Regions from separate parts of the Homo sapiens genome. Here region 1 is linked to region 2. Evidence: promoter capture Hi-C in human tissues and cell types (Jung and others, 2019). All regions are on one chromosome and are shown on one strand. The core of a region is centred on a gene start or on the middle of the fragment in contact, and the rest is flanking DNA. Distances in the headings are between cores, read along the strand shown. Region 1 overlaps KRT86 (keratin 86). Region 2 holds the start of KRT79 (keratin 79).

Region 1 (7,024 bases), core at 646-3,145, 550 kb after region 2:
GCAGGCGCCTGTAGTCCCAGCTATCTGGGAGGCTGAGGCGGAAGAATGGTGTGAACCCGGGAGGCGGAGCTTGCAGTGAGCCAAGATTGCGCCACTGCAGTCCAGCCTGGGCGACAGAGCAAGGCTTTGTCTCAAAAAAAAAAAAAATTGTTTCAGGGGGCTCAAAAACCTTCTAAAGAATTCCAGTAAGTGAAATAATAGTTACACTTACATAACTTCCTATGCTTTAAGCACTTTACATGCAGCAATACCTTTTCTCAAACAACCCTCTGATAGTTACTCTATTTTGCAGCTAACCTTTGGCTCAGAGGGACTAAGTAGGGAAGAAAACAAGGAAAAAGAAAGCCAAGCACAGTGGCTCACATCTGTAATCCCAGCACTTTGGGAGGCTGAGGCAGGAGGATTGCTTGAGGCCAAGAGTTTGAGACCAGCCTGGGCAGTATGGTGAGACCCCATCTCTACAAAACTTTTTTTTTAATTAGCAGAGCGTGGAGGCATGTGCCTGTAGTCCCAGCTACTGAGGAGGTTGAGGCAGGAGGATCGCTTCAGCCCAGGAGGTTGAGGCTGCAGTGAGCTATAATCCTGCCACTGCACTCTAGCCTGGGTGATAGAGCAAGACTTCATCACTACAAAAATAAATTTAAAATTAAATAAGAAGGAAAAAAAGAATCTTCACAATTTAGATCTAGAGGAGGGCAGGACTGAGGCCCAGAAACAGGTGAAGAGTTTGGACAAGGTAAGAATAAGACTGGGAACAGGATCAAGGCCCTTCCTTCCTTACTCCAGGCTGGTCTGGTTGATCTCTTACAGCTGAAATCACAGCAGGAAGGACTGCATTTAGACTCCACAAGAGACTTCCAAGGGGTTATGCAGAATGCCACATGCCAATGGTCAAAAACAGGGCCCAATACATCTCAGGACAGGACACACCAACCAGGACCATGCAGCCTCAACCCCATCACATCTACTCTGTGGCAGACCCTGAGGATGGATGAGACCTTCACTGCCCTCCTGGGGCTCAGATAGAGACATGACCACAGCCAAGTTAGCATCTGACATGTTTAAATACAACGGAGTGTGAGGCAGGCATGCAGAGCCAACAGAGGACTCACACCTTATAGTGCCCTTCTGCTGAGAAGCAATGACTGAACTGAGGACAGCCCTCCTCCCTTCAGAAGCCACCCGACTCACAAAGCTTATAAATGGGCTGGGGAATGACTCTCCATAAATGCACTGGGCAGTTTCCTCCCACCCCAGTCTGGAATGTGGCCCATGGCCAGGGGAGCCTCTCAGGGAATTAGTCTCCAAACCACAAACATTGCTTGTGATCCACAGGGCCCTGGCCCAGGAAGAAACTCAAACCTGACCCCAAAGCCCTGGGGATCTTCTGGATTGACATCAGGCAAGTCCAGGTTCGGTATTTGAAAAGGGAAAATGTGAGCAACAGTCCTGAGTGACGCAGGTTGCAGAATGTACATCCTAGATCCTGCCTACAATTCCCACAAAGTTCCCTTGTTGACATGATCATCATAGCAGGAGCTGGAGAAAATTGGGCTTGAATAGCAGAGAATCTCATGATCCCCTAGCAAAATGCAAGGAGCACAGAGCTGGACTAAAGAATCTTGAAAGAATCTTCAGGCAGCTTGTTTGCATTTGCGAGTGTTGGCAGGTCAGTATTTATCAACCAGGGCTGATGTGTGAGCCCAGTGGGGTCATGCCCCCTACCCCTCAGGAGGGTGGCATCCGGCTAGCCAAGTTTCAGTCCCATTCCTCTTGCATGAGACTTTTCTGTTTACACAAGAAGAGGGCCTTTTGGATACCTGTCCTCTGGGCAGGCACCCAGAAGAACACAGCAGACACTCTGGCACTAGAGTGCCTTAAAAAGTAAAGCCCAAGCCTCTGGCCAATGACGCACTTCAGCCCCACCCAGGGACATAGAAAGCAGAAACTATTGTTGCATTGATGATGTAATTTCATGCAATAGAAAGGAATGTGGGCTCACTGTACAGAAGCTTCTCTTGGGTCTGTGTGGCAGGGAAAGAACCCAGAAATCCAGCCTTTATCTAGCCACCCCACTCTATCTTCCGACCACCAAAATCCAATGCCTTGTAAAAACTCGGACCAACTTACACCCTGGATCTGAAGTAGAGACAGAGCTGGAGCCTCCGTCTGATTTCACAGCCCACAATTTCCTCCACCATAGTGTGTTGTTCCTCTGCCCGCCACCAGATCATATTAACACAACTCGGTGGCCCAATTGTGTGTTAAACCAGAACCCAAGCTTGGGCCACCCAATTGTGTTCATCTCTCTCCAGCCCCCATCTGCAAGGGCCACCTGTCTTCAAATGCCCCATCAGGGTGATAGAAGGCACTGGCCCAATCCCCATCTCACCCTTTTCTGTTTCTGCTCGGTTTCCTCGTCTATGGCCCACCTCCCTACCCAGAACCTCATCTCCAGGAATCCTAGAGTGTCTTCCTCACCATCCTGTCCCCTGAACCAAGCACTATGAGGCCATTCAGTAAGTATGTGTAGAGTGAATGGATGGATGGAGAATGGAATTCTCAGCTCTGCTGCCCAGAAGCTATGGGCCCCAGGCTAGACTCTTCTGCATGAATGAACCCTTTCTCTCGCTTTCCCCATGGACTCCGGGCTCCCCATCCTAAAGACTCTGGTTCTATAATATCGAATCATCATATACTTAAGTCACATAGACCCTCACAGCAGGAGGGGAGGAGGTTGCTTCCTGGTACTGTTCTCGCCCTGACCCCTCCACCGCAGCCAGGTTTGTCTGTGCTCTGGGAATGGCCTGGAGAATCCGGGTTTAAACTCCTGGCAGCTCAGACCACTCCACAACTTTTTATTGCAGAGAAGTCCCTGGAAAGAAGGGGTGGGAACAGTTCAGAGGGGCAGGGTTCTTGGTCCAGGTAAGCTGGCCACCTCTACCCAATGGCACCAGCGTCCAGGCCATCTGCACTGGGGATGGTCAGTCATAGTCCTGTAAGCTGTGCTCCAACGCCTCACGTCCCGGTGTGGGAGGCAAAAAGGAAAGATGATGTGGGGTCAGCTCTATGGGAGGGGGCATCTGACACAAGAGGGCTAAGTCTTTAGGGCAGAAGCTGAGGGTTCCTTGTCTTCTCCGGAGGGAGGCGGGAAGGGTTCAACATCTGCGGGAGCTGTGTAGCTAAAGCCCACGGACACAGCCGGGAGAGCCGCAGAGCGCGTAGCCGCCGCCAGGGGCGCTCGTCTCCAGGGCGCCGGAGCCTGCTCGGGGCTGGAGCAGGCAGGCGGAGCCCGGCTGAACGGAGGACGACTGTCCGAGGGAGGAAAGCCCTTCCTCCCCCCACCCCAAGCCCCAGAAGACAGACTTGCAGACATCTCCTCCAGATACACAGACCCTCCTCCCCACCAGGAGACAGATGTACAAACTCCCCGAAAGGAACAGGTAAACAGACCTCTCCCCAGAGAACAGACCACAGGACCCCCTTCCCCACACACGCAAACGCAGTCACCCCCGAGAGAAGAAATAGCCCCCGACAAAAGGAGAGGCACAGAGGGAGCTGTCACAGACACAGGAACAGAAACACAGCCCTTCTGCCTTCTCAAGAGGAGGCACGCCAAGGTGTGGACGGGGAAGGAGGGAATAAGGAGAATAAGATAATAAGATAAGATCCGACCATGCCAGCCTACTGTTTACTTACTGATGCTCCTTGCCCCAAATCCCAGACCAAGCCAGCGGAAAGAAGGAAGCAGGTGAGTCCATCTGTCTACTAGGTTTGGTATTCTGCATTCCCCAGGACACACACTCCTGACCCTCCCAGACAGCAGTCCTTCCACCCTGCAAGCTCCCTGGCGCTCTCTGATCACTCCTGCCTTAAATTCATATAACTCACTTTTGTTGATGACTTTTTGGAGGAAAGAGAAGACCAAAAAAAAAAAAAAAAAAACTACACTTTCTTTGGCCTGACTTGATCTTGGAAGGTGAGACCGTGAGGGAACATTTTAAACCTCTACAGGAGACCCCAGAGCAGGTAGCTCCATAATCTGAAGACTAGTGTGTGTCCCTAAAGCTGTCACTTAACCTCTCTGAAACTTACCCCTCATCTGTAAAATGGGGATAATAGGACCTCCCTGCCAGGGTTTTGTGAGGTGTTAAAGGAGGTGATCAATGCAATATGCCTGTGGCATGGGTGATCAGTTCCCCCTCCCTCCCCTAGCCTGGTGACAGCCCTTGTCTCCTACTGTTGTCTACTGAGTTGAAAGCCAAGCCCCACCTGGTCATGTAACCCCACCTTCCCCAGGCCTGGGGAGAGGGGCAGAGTTGAGAAGAAGGCACTTCACACAGAGACCTTATTCCCACTGGCTAGGCCTTGGTCCCTGCAGCTGTCTCCATGGACAAACCGGCCCCTGGTCTCTGATACTGGGGTGGATGACTATGGGTCACCCCGTCCCAGGTGCCAAAAGTACACATCAGCTAGAACTTTTTGTTCAAAGGGCTGTAAGATGGTGAGAGAAACCTAGCTCTAGAGGAACGAGTTCCTGGATACCTAGGTCATCTCTCTCCACCCTTCCCTGGCTGATGAGCGTGGTGCTGCCCTGTGCCCCTGCACTCCTCACTGCAGCCACATCTGAAGCACTTCCCAGCTGACCCATCATCCACTCTCTTCACCCTCCAGCAGCTTGTGGCAGGCAGCAATCTCAAAGTCCAGGCCCCACTTGACGATCACAGCTCTCAGTACTCACACAGCTGCTACATCACATCCTGCTTAGCTCGCTGCAGGGCAGCCTCCAGCCAAGCCAGCTTGCCCTTGGTGCTGCCAGAGCCACCCTCCTCCTGCAGAGCTGGCGGGTCCTTGACTTCCTCTAGTTCACAGGGCGTAGGGAGCGAAGGGTAGACCAAGGACAGAAGGACATTATTGGCCCTCACTCCTTCCCCCTTAAGGATCCAGACCTTGCTCTGAGGCTGCAGAGCCAATGAGGGATTGGAGATTGTCCATGGTTGCAAGGAGTGAGCACACCTGTTCCAAAACTTGTGTTTGTTTGTCTGTATGGCAAGATGAAAAGAACCTGCCCACCTGTCTACCTTCAGGGTGAAGATTTGAAACCGGCTATCTAGGATGGCTGAGAGAGAGCCTTTTACGTCTAGTATGGAGAAACTCCTAATATGAGCCAGGATCCCAGAAGCATCCAATGCTCTTTGGCATGTAATGCTGTGGTTATTGTTTCCTAAGGAAAACTAGCAAGAAGAATATCCATTCCTCACGGGAACCTAGAGTTTATACTCTTCAGGAGGAAAAATAATAAGACCTTGGTGAAGTGTATTTGCTGCTTGGGGAACCAGAACAGCTGTGGCTGGTGGGACCCTGACCATGATGGCCCACCCACTCACTCTGCCCCCTCAGAACCTCAGCAGCTTATCCCTTCTCAGAGTCACCCATTCCTGTACAAGGGAGATCTCTCTCCATGAATACCCTTCCAAGCCTGAGACACTTGCATCTGCAGAAAGCAAGAAAAGACCGGGAACAGAAGCCCTTCCCTCCATGGAGTGAGACTTGAGCCAGCGGGGGTGTGAGAGGGCTGGGAGGTGGGTGGGTTAAGAGAGGAGGCTAAGAGAGAATGGGAGAAAGAAAACATCCTGGAGGACTAGCTCCTTTCTAAGGCTCACAAATGCAAGTGCTTGCAGAGGCCTAGCTGGAAGCATCAAAAGGTGAAGGCTAAATATACATCAGGAGTACCCAGTTCCACAAATACATCTGCCCTCTCCCATTTCCTGAAATCACCAGCACCTCTTTTATATTTTCAGACTTGCATTTCTCTGGCGACATTGACTCAGCACCTTTTCTCTTCTACAAGGATAATAACTTGCAGCCAGGACAGTGATAAATGGCAAGGGACCCTCTGCCTCACATCCAAAGGATGGGATTGGGAGTGGTGGGGACTGCGGCACACCAGGCAGCCTATACCGCATGTGAAGAAGAGAGAGATGATAGAGGCCTCTCTCCTCTAGCCAAATGTTGCCATTTGAGAATCATAATTTAACATTGCCAGATCTTCACATTTTGAAATAGAACCCAGAAAACTGGGTTTCTAGGTAATATCTTGCAATTTCTGAAGATGGGCTCAAATGTAATACTGAGCGAGAAAAACAAAACACAGACATAAAAATGAACATACACAAGTAAAAAGATAATAATGTACAAACAAGCATATATCTTCATACAGATTTACCTACATGTTCATTACTTACATAAAATACACAATGTCCTAGGCAGAGGTAAGCATGATATATGCATGCAGCTGCACTGCTGTATGCTTAGACATTCACTAAGAGAAAGTGTAGCCATCTAATCCAAAGGGTAGGTGGGGAGGGGCAGTTGTCATAAATAATGGTCACCATCCCACCATGGCCACTCTGTTGCCCCCCACTCCCACCTCTCACCTGACTCTCAGCACTGCCCACCTCCACCGTCAGCCACTGGATGGCCTGATTAAGCCTGTTCAGATCCTCCTTGCTGGGCTTCAGGCTCTGCGTGTGTTTCTGCACAGTTGCCTTTAATTCCTCACACTGTGGAGCAGACGGCAGAGGGGAGCTGTAGTCAGGAGGTGAGGAGGCCAGACAGGGCTGCCCATCCACCTGCTGTCACCAGTGGTCACCTAGCTTCTCTGGGCATCCCTTTCTCCATCTGTGAAATGGGAGTGATCATTTTTCCTATCTCCAAAGGTTGTTGAAAGAACACAGTGAGCTTGCCTTGTGCCCATGGGGCCAGAAGATGCCAAAGGAAGCCTGAACTCAGGCAGGAAGGGCAGCAACACAGGGCAGTGATCTGTTGAGGGGAGCTTTGGGACCAAGATCACATAGGGTTTATCCCAGGAACAGGGAGAGTTAAACTCTAGGAAACTGATTATTGTAGTTTACAACATCTAACCATTTAAATTAGTACAAAAAAAATTAATGAAATTCAATATTTCCTAATTTAAAAAACACATTTTAAAATCTAGGATTAGGAAGAAATGTCCTTAATTTGA
Region 2 (6,950 bases), core at 4,174-6,673:
TGAGTTTGGGGAGGAGGATGGGATGCCAACACAGTGAGCTGCTTGCTAAAGAGGATTCTGAGAGATTTCCTGACATTGTGAGTTGCTAAGGGCAACCGACGCTGCAGAGAGGGATTTTAAGTTGGAGACTGTGGATTTTATCTGCTGAGAGGGTGGGTGACCTGCTTTGAGGGGCTTAAAAGCTCGTGGGGATGCATTCTTTGTAGTATTCCTTAGCGCATCCCCCTCTTGTCCTTTTCCCCCTAGGATGTCTGGGGAGTGCACCAGCCAGGTCACTATCTGTGAGTATCAGGGGACTTTAGGGATGGGATCCCCATGGGGAGCTGATGACCCTGCTCTGACCCGGTGCGTTTCTTGGCAGCCTCGGTGGGAGGCAGCGCTGTCATGTCTGGAGGAGTTGGTGGAGGCTTGGGGAGCACTTGTGGACTCGGTAGTGGGAAAGGCAGCCCTGGGTCCTGCTGCACCAGCATTGTGACTGGAGGCTCCAACATCATTCTGGGCTCTGGGAAGGACCCTGTTTTGGATTCCTGCTCTGTGTCTGGCTCCAGCGCTGGCTCCAGCTGCCACACCATCCTGAAGAAGACAGTTGAGTCGAGTCTGAAGACATCCATCACCTACTGAGCGACCCAGCAGCCACCTCCTTCCTGAACACATTTGGCCCACTCCCCCCATCAGCCGGCTCTGCAAGGCCAACTCCGTGTCCGCTGCCCACAGCCCAAGCCAGCCCACAGCGGATGCTGCAAAAATCAATAAAGTCTCCCCTCCTGCTGTTCTGAATGCTCTAAGTGCTTGCACACCTCACCCAGCAAAACAAAAGCTGTGTGGCTCCCCAGCTTCCTCTCCTCGGAAGGCAATTGTGGCATATCTGTGTCCAGACGTGTTCTATTGGTATCTCACTCCACATCCCAGCCACTCTATCAAGGGATCCTTCAAGCTCTCCAGTGTGTTCCTTGGGGTGCCCTCCATCTCCCACAACTCCACTGATGTTTTAGCTGTGCTTGTAGCTCACTTCCTCATCAACTGCCTGTTTTAAGAGGTTCTAGTCCTGACTGGGGCAGCCCCCTTCCTTCTTGTTCCTCCTTCTTCCTGACTGTGCACCAAAATTTTCTCCTTTTAGGAACCTTCTCTAATTCCCATGTCTAAACTACTGGGCCCTTCCTGTCCCTGGCAGTCTGGCTGCACCTGTTGCTGTCCTGGGTGCTATGTCTGTCTGGCTCTGGTAAGGGACTCAGCTTCTCTATTAGCCTGGCACTCCTGCATCCAGGATGAGGATGTGCTCAGCTTGTGCCTGGGGGCTCTGATGGAGATTGGGGTTCAAACTCTGCCCCTACCCCCTTATCTGTTGGCTCTCATCTTATCCTTGGGCAAGTGTGAACATGAGGCTGGAAACTTCTCCTCCTTCCTCTCCTTCAGGAAGCTCTGCAGGAAGCCAGGAGTGTGGGAATCAGGTGGGGTGCCAGGAGGGGCTGGAAGGATCACCTTTTCTACACACCCCCAGCAGCCTCATGGGTGCCTGCAGTTGCTCTTTCCCCATTCTCGCTTTCCAGACCCAGGTGGGGGACCTGGCTCAACCCCAAACTCCATAGTCTGGGCTGCAGGAGGTCACACTACGCCTCTCCTTGCTTTAGAGGGAGGGCAGACCTTTCCTCAGATTCATGAATCGCTCCATCCAAATTATGCAAGAAGGCTTTTCAGCTTTGTGTGAAGGAGACCAGAGCCGGTGAGGATGTGGCTTGAATCCCAGCTCTGCTGTTTCCTAGTGGTGTGACCTTGATCAAGCAGCTTGACCTCTTCAGTTACCTCATCTGTAAAAAGAGATTAATAATAATATGTACCTCACAGGGCTGTGTGGCGACAGTGCCACTAGGATCCCAGAAGGAAACTAAATTCATCCAAGGTAGTTCAATTAAATTGACTTTTTGAAAAAGTATAATTTCCGTTTTCTTTTTTCCCCAGAGGATAGTCTTTTCTTTAGTGCTGAGGGATTCGGCCCCTTACATGGGCTTTGGCGGAGATTGTGGGCAGCACCAGCTGTTCTGACTAGGGATATGGGTGTTGGGTCCTTCTGGGCTTCACAAGGCTGCTTCCTGCCTGGCCTGCTATGAGTGACTCACCTCACATGGTAATGCAGTTTCACATACAGCCTGGGAAGCACCCAGACATCCAAGACACTCGCTTTGGAAATGTTCCTGATGGCGGTGGACTCTACCACGTTTTTCAGACTAAGACCTCCTTAATGGCCTTGCCCTCGGGCACGTGTCAGGTGGGGTTTGTGTAGTGAATAGGCTGCACGTGGTCGTGGGCGTGATTGTTGTTCCTTCTTTTCTTTGTCTTCTTGGAAGTGAGGACCTGAGAGGGCTAAATTGACTTTAAGGAAAGGATTACTTGCAGAGGTGTGGTTAGGGCTGAGGGAACAGGGATGGAGAGGCCAGGGACCAGCAATGGCGAGAAGCCGTTACCACACCTAGAGTGAGGTCCACCCTCTCAGTGTGTCCAAGACTGAGAGGACTTGCAGTGCTAAAGCTGGGCAGTCCTGAGAAAATCAGGATGGGCTGGTCGCCTTATGTAGAGCTGAAGATCAAGAGAAGCAGTGAGGTGGCAGAAGCTGTAATCATGGGGAGATGTAGCCATGTCCCCAGACAGTGGTCTGAAGTGGTTGGAAGCAGGGAGGGAGCTGGGAAGAAACATCTGACCTGTCTCCTCCCTCTGATCTCCTGCTGGTGTCTCCCTTTGGTCAACTCAACTGGAAGCCAGAGTGCCAGGGAGCAGCCCACAAGGGTCAGAGGAAGGTGGAGAATGGAGCGGGAGGGAGGCAGATGGAGCATCACCCAGTGCGGAGACTCAACATGCCATTGCAGGGAAGGCATCCAGGCCACTCTGCTGCATAGTACGTGCTCAGTAAGTGTTGACTGTAATAATGATGATAATTAGCTCAGAAAGCCCTACCCTCTTGGGGCTCCTTTGTCCCTGTAACTTTCCTATTGCTCGGCACCCGGCCTGACCCATGGTAGGTGCTAGGTTGGCAGTATCCACTCTCTTGCCCCCTCCCTTTGGTGGCAGCAACCTTCAGTCCCCTCTGCTTTTGTGTCCTGCCATCAGGGAGGGACTCTGGGCAGGTGACAGTCTCCAGAGATGGAGCCCCTCAGTAATCAGTATAGCAGTGTGCAGCAGCTCTTCCTCTCTGTGGAGGGCAGGAGGGGAGGAAACTGCTCCTCCCTGGGCTGCAGAAAGAAGGTCTGAGCGTGCATGTCCTGTCTGAAGGTAGAGTGGAGAGTAGGGGCTGGTGGAGGCAAAGTGCCCTCCCAGGCTTCTGTCTGGGCCTGGGCTGTGAACCTGGGTGGGAGGGAGGCTGTCTCCAAGCAGCAAGCCGGGAGCTCCATGAGAGTGTGCCCTGGTCCCTGTGTGCCTGTCACCAGCTCCCAGCACAAAGCGTGGCCCAGAGAGCGTGCTTGGTAAATGTGTGCAAGGGACTGGCGTGAGTGTCGTGTCTGGGGTGAGGTGAGACTTGTGTTTATCGACTGCCTCTCACTCCCACCAGCCTGGCTGCCCTGTGACTCAGAGGGCTGACAACACTTCCTTGCCCAGGGGGCCCACAGCCACATCCTGGAGGCTAGGGCCCACTCATGACTGTTTCCTCCTCCCACGCCACCCAGGGAGAGATAAGGGAGGCTGAGAAAGTGATCTCAGCCTGGGGAAAGGAGACGAAGGTCAGTGGGAAGGGGCGGCTTCATCCAGGGATCACTTTTCGAAAGGTCTTCCACGGAGGGCCCTGCTTATAGGCAGAGAAAATGGGGCTCAGAGAAGTTGCGAGTTGCCCCAGGACACACAGCTCAGTGTGGGAGACGTCTCGGCTTGGCTCCCTGAAATGCCCAGTGTCCTAACTCCAAAATCTCCTCTTGGCTATTAAGGGACTAGTTCTGCAAGTGCTCTCACTCCCATTCCTTGTGGGAGCTGGGTTCAACCTCTTCAAGCAACGGGGAGCCACTTACAGCCTCCCAGGGGCCCTAGGAGAAGATCCCACAGCTCCCTCTGGTCCTGGAGCAGGCTGTCTCTTCACTTGCTGGGCTGTGGGGAACATGGGAGGGAGGCCAAGCCTTCTCCGTGGCAGTCCCATGTCCTCTCTGTTGGGATCCTGGGGACACAGCCTGGCTGGTTGTCCTGCTCATCTGATGGGGGTGGGGAGCACAGCGATGCTGTCCTCGCTCCTTTTTTTCAGGCAAGTCTCTGTTCACTTTGAGCCCATCTTCTTGCTGAGAGAAGGGGGTGGGGAGGGCCAGTGTCTAAAGTCACCTCCTCAGTCACCCCTCGGCCCTGACAGTTGACGTCTCTGTCTTTGCTTGGGGCTGTGTTTGGTCCCAGCAGACTGAGGTGAATAGGAAGTGGGCGGCGGGGACCATATGAGGTGATTTAAGGAGCTCCCCTGGCCCCTCTGAATCAGAAACATGGGCTCCTGCATGTGGGGCAGGGGAAGATGGGAGTGACGGGGCTGCTGCGTGGGCCTCCTGGGGCTTTTTTGGAACACCTGCTTTTTGGAGCTGTGCCTGTCTCCACCCAGGGTGGTCTGTGTCCTTGACCCACCTCCAGCTCCCTCCAAAGTGGCTGAACCTTTCTGTGGGGACTCTGCTGTGGGGTAGAGGCTCAGGGATCTCAGGTATTGGTTAAATCCCCTGCCCTCTCTTCAGCCTCCATAAGAATGTCCTTTGCTCCCAGGCTTCTGGGCCCTGCCTGAGGACCCCAGGCCTTTTCTACCTCCTGATCAAGGGCCTGGGCCCCACGATTGGGCAGGGATCCTCTTTCTGTCCTTGAATTCACTTTGCCAGCATAGGCTCACTTCCCAGAAGGCTCTGCCACTGTACGGCAGAGGCACAGGCTATCCCCACTCTCGCCCTGTCACCTGTGTCACACACCCTGGACCTGGGAGGAGTGGTGGGCCGTTGGCTGGGGGTGGGATGGGAGCAGGCCTGGATGCTCTCTCTGGCAGCCCATTGCCCAATGCTCCTTCTCCTACCACCTGTACAGCCCCAGGCCCTGCAGCCTTGGCTTACAACAGGGGCCTGGGACAAACCCCGTAGAACAGAGCCCTATTGACAGTGGCCTCTGGGGCTGGGTGGGAGGACAGCAAGCCAGCCACTGGGTGGTGGGGGTGGCCATGGGAGCCCGTATCATCCTGTGCCAACCGAGGAGAGCCTGGGGGCAGGGGGAGAAGGTGGCATCCTGCCCCAGACAGTCTCGGCTCAGCCCCAGCTCTGGAGCACAGGTGATAACCGGGAGGGCCCCTCCCTCCTGCTTGGGGAGAGGGCACTCCCCGTGGCCCTAAGGACCCCTCCCTCTCCCCTTGGGGCGATGGGGCAGGAGTGTCTGTGGAGCTGGGGAGCCGGCCCAGTTGGGAAAAGATAAAAAGCCCACAGTGGCCCAGCAGCTCACGGCACTCCCTTCCTGCCCTCTCATCCTGCCCTCCGGCCCCTCTGCAGCTATGAGGTCCTCCGTCTCTCGGCAAACATACTCCACAAAAGGGGGCTTCAGCTCCAACTCTGCCAGCGGAGGGAGTGGGTCCCAGGCCCGCACCAGCTTCAGCTCAGTGACGGTGTCTCGGAGCAGTGGCAGTGGTGGCGGGGCCCACTGTGGCCCCGGCACAGGTGGCTTTGGCAGCCGAAGCCTCTATAACTTGGGGGGCCACAAGAGTATCTCTGTCAGTGTGGCCGGAGGGGCCTTGTTGGGGCGGGCTCTGGGGGGCTTTGGCTTTGGCAGCAGGGCATTTATGGGACAGGGGGCTGGCAGGCAGACGTTTGGGCCTGCTTGTCCTCCTGGGGGGATCCAGGAGGTCACTGTCAACCAGAGCCTGCTGACCCCCCTCCATGTGGAGATTGACCCCGAGATCCAGCGAGTGCGCACTCAGGAGCGGGAGCAGATCAAGACCCTCAACAACAAGTTCGCCTCCTTCATCGACAAGGTGGGCCAAGCAGGAAGGAGGAAGGGAGCTCTTGGGGAAGAAGCGGGACCTCTAATAGAGGGTGGGCTGGGCCAGGGCTGCTGTAGCCCACTTGTACTAGGGTGGTGGTTGATAGAGCTCTGGAGCTCTCCCGGTCTGAGCCTGGGATGCCGAGACGTGGGTGGCTGGAGGCGGCCTTCAGGTCTTCACCGTGCCTGTGCGGGGGGAGTCTCCAGTCTACTCATGAGTCCGGTTTGCCAAGTCCACCTTGCCCGTGTTGAAGCCTGTCCTACCACCATGATTAATACGATTGATTGCACAGTAGCCTTACCTCATCATCAAAAAATGGATTGTCCTCATAGCTCCTCTTAGTGGGGTGGCCTGCATTGCCTTTTGTCATTTTACAGCTGGGGAAACAATGCTCAGGAGTTGAAAGAGTTGTTCAAGGCTAAGAGCATGGAGCCCTGTTTGTTCCATTCTTTCAGGCTTGGAGGAGGCTTAAGGGCAAGATGTGATCAAAACACAGTTGTGTGTGGGTGGGGTCCTAGGGGTAGGCTCCCTTCCGCTTCTCCTTTTTTTACACTCTGAGTGAAGAAGCTCAATTTGGGGTGGACAATGAGGAGGGTGGTCACCAGGTCACCAAGCTCTGGGAATGTGGAATTTGACCTGTTGCCCATAGGCATGCCCTGAACCTTGCCCTTGCCTCCAGATGGATGGGAGCAACACTTGTGCTGGGATTTCCTGGTCTGTTTCGCTGGCATTGTCCACCTCGATCCTGAGCCAAGGCAGCGGGTCATGATGGGGAAGGTCTGGCAGACAAATGTACCTTGGTTCAGTGATTTGTGTGTTTCCGAAGAACATGCACATCCCTTTTCTCCTGAGGTACCCACAGTGCTTCTATGAAGACTCAGAAATGGTGATATTGTGCCCATTTTTGAGATGAGAAAATTGAGGTCTAGAGAGCTCAAGTGATTTGCCCAGGATGATACAAGGAGTTGGAGGCAGAGGCGGGACTGGGACC

Evidence for each region. Contacts are between HindIII fragments. The study calls those that stand out against the background at their distance.
Region 1: a contact is called between a fragment that was not itself captured here and the fragment with the promoter of KRT79 in region 2, in 1 of the 25 tissues and cell types used here (thymus).

What each region holds. Positions count from the first base shown.
Region 1 is chr12:52,275,360-52,282,383 of GRCh38, reverse strand. KRT86 (keratin 86) reads right to left here. Exons shown (of 11, transcript NM_001320198.2): 2 at 6,438-6,563. KRT86-AS2 (KRT86 antisense RNA 2) reads left to right here and starts at 3,228. Exons shown (of 2, transcript NR_199073.1): 1 at 3,228-3,443. RefSeq lists an enhancer at 1,108-2,307. The HindIII fragment of the contact is 5,713 bases long and covers 1-4,751 here.
Region 2 is chr12:52,832,784-52,839,733 of GRCh38, reverse strand. It overlaps KRT79 (keratin 79), which reads left to right and starts at 5,423. Exons shown (of 9, transcript NM_175834.3): 1 at 5,423-5,950. The coding sequence starts at 5,474. It overlaps KRT78 (keratin 78), which reads left to right. Exons shown (of 9, transcript NM_173352.4): 8 at 247-281; 9 at 362-1,927. The coding sequence ends at 621. RefSeq lists an enhancer at 1,752-2,951. The HindIII fragment of the contact is 20,589 bases long and covers 1-6,950 here.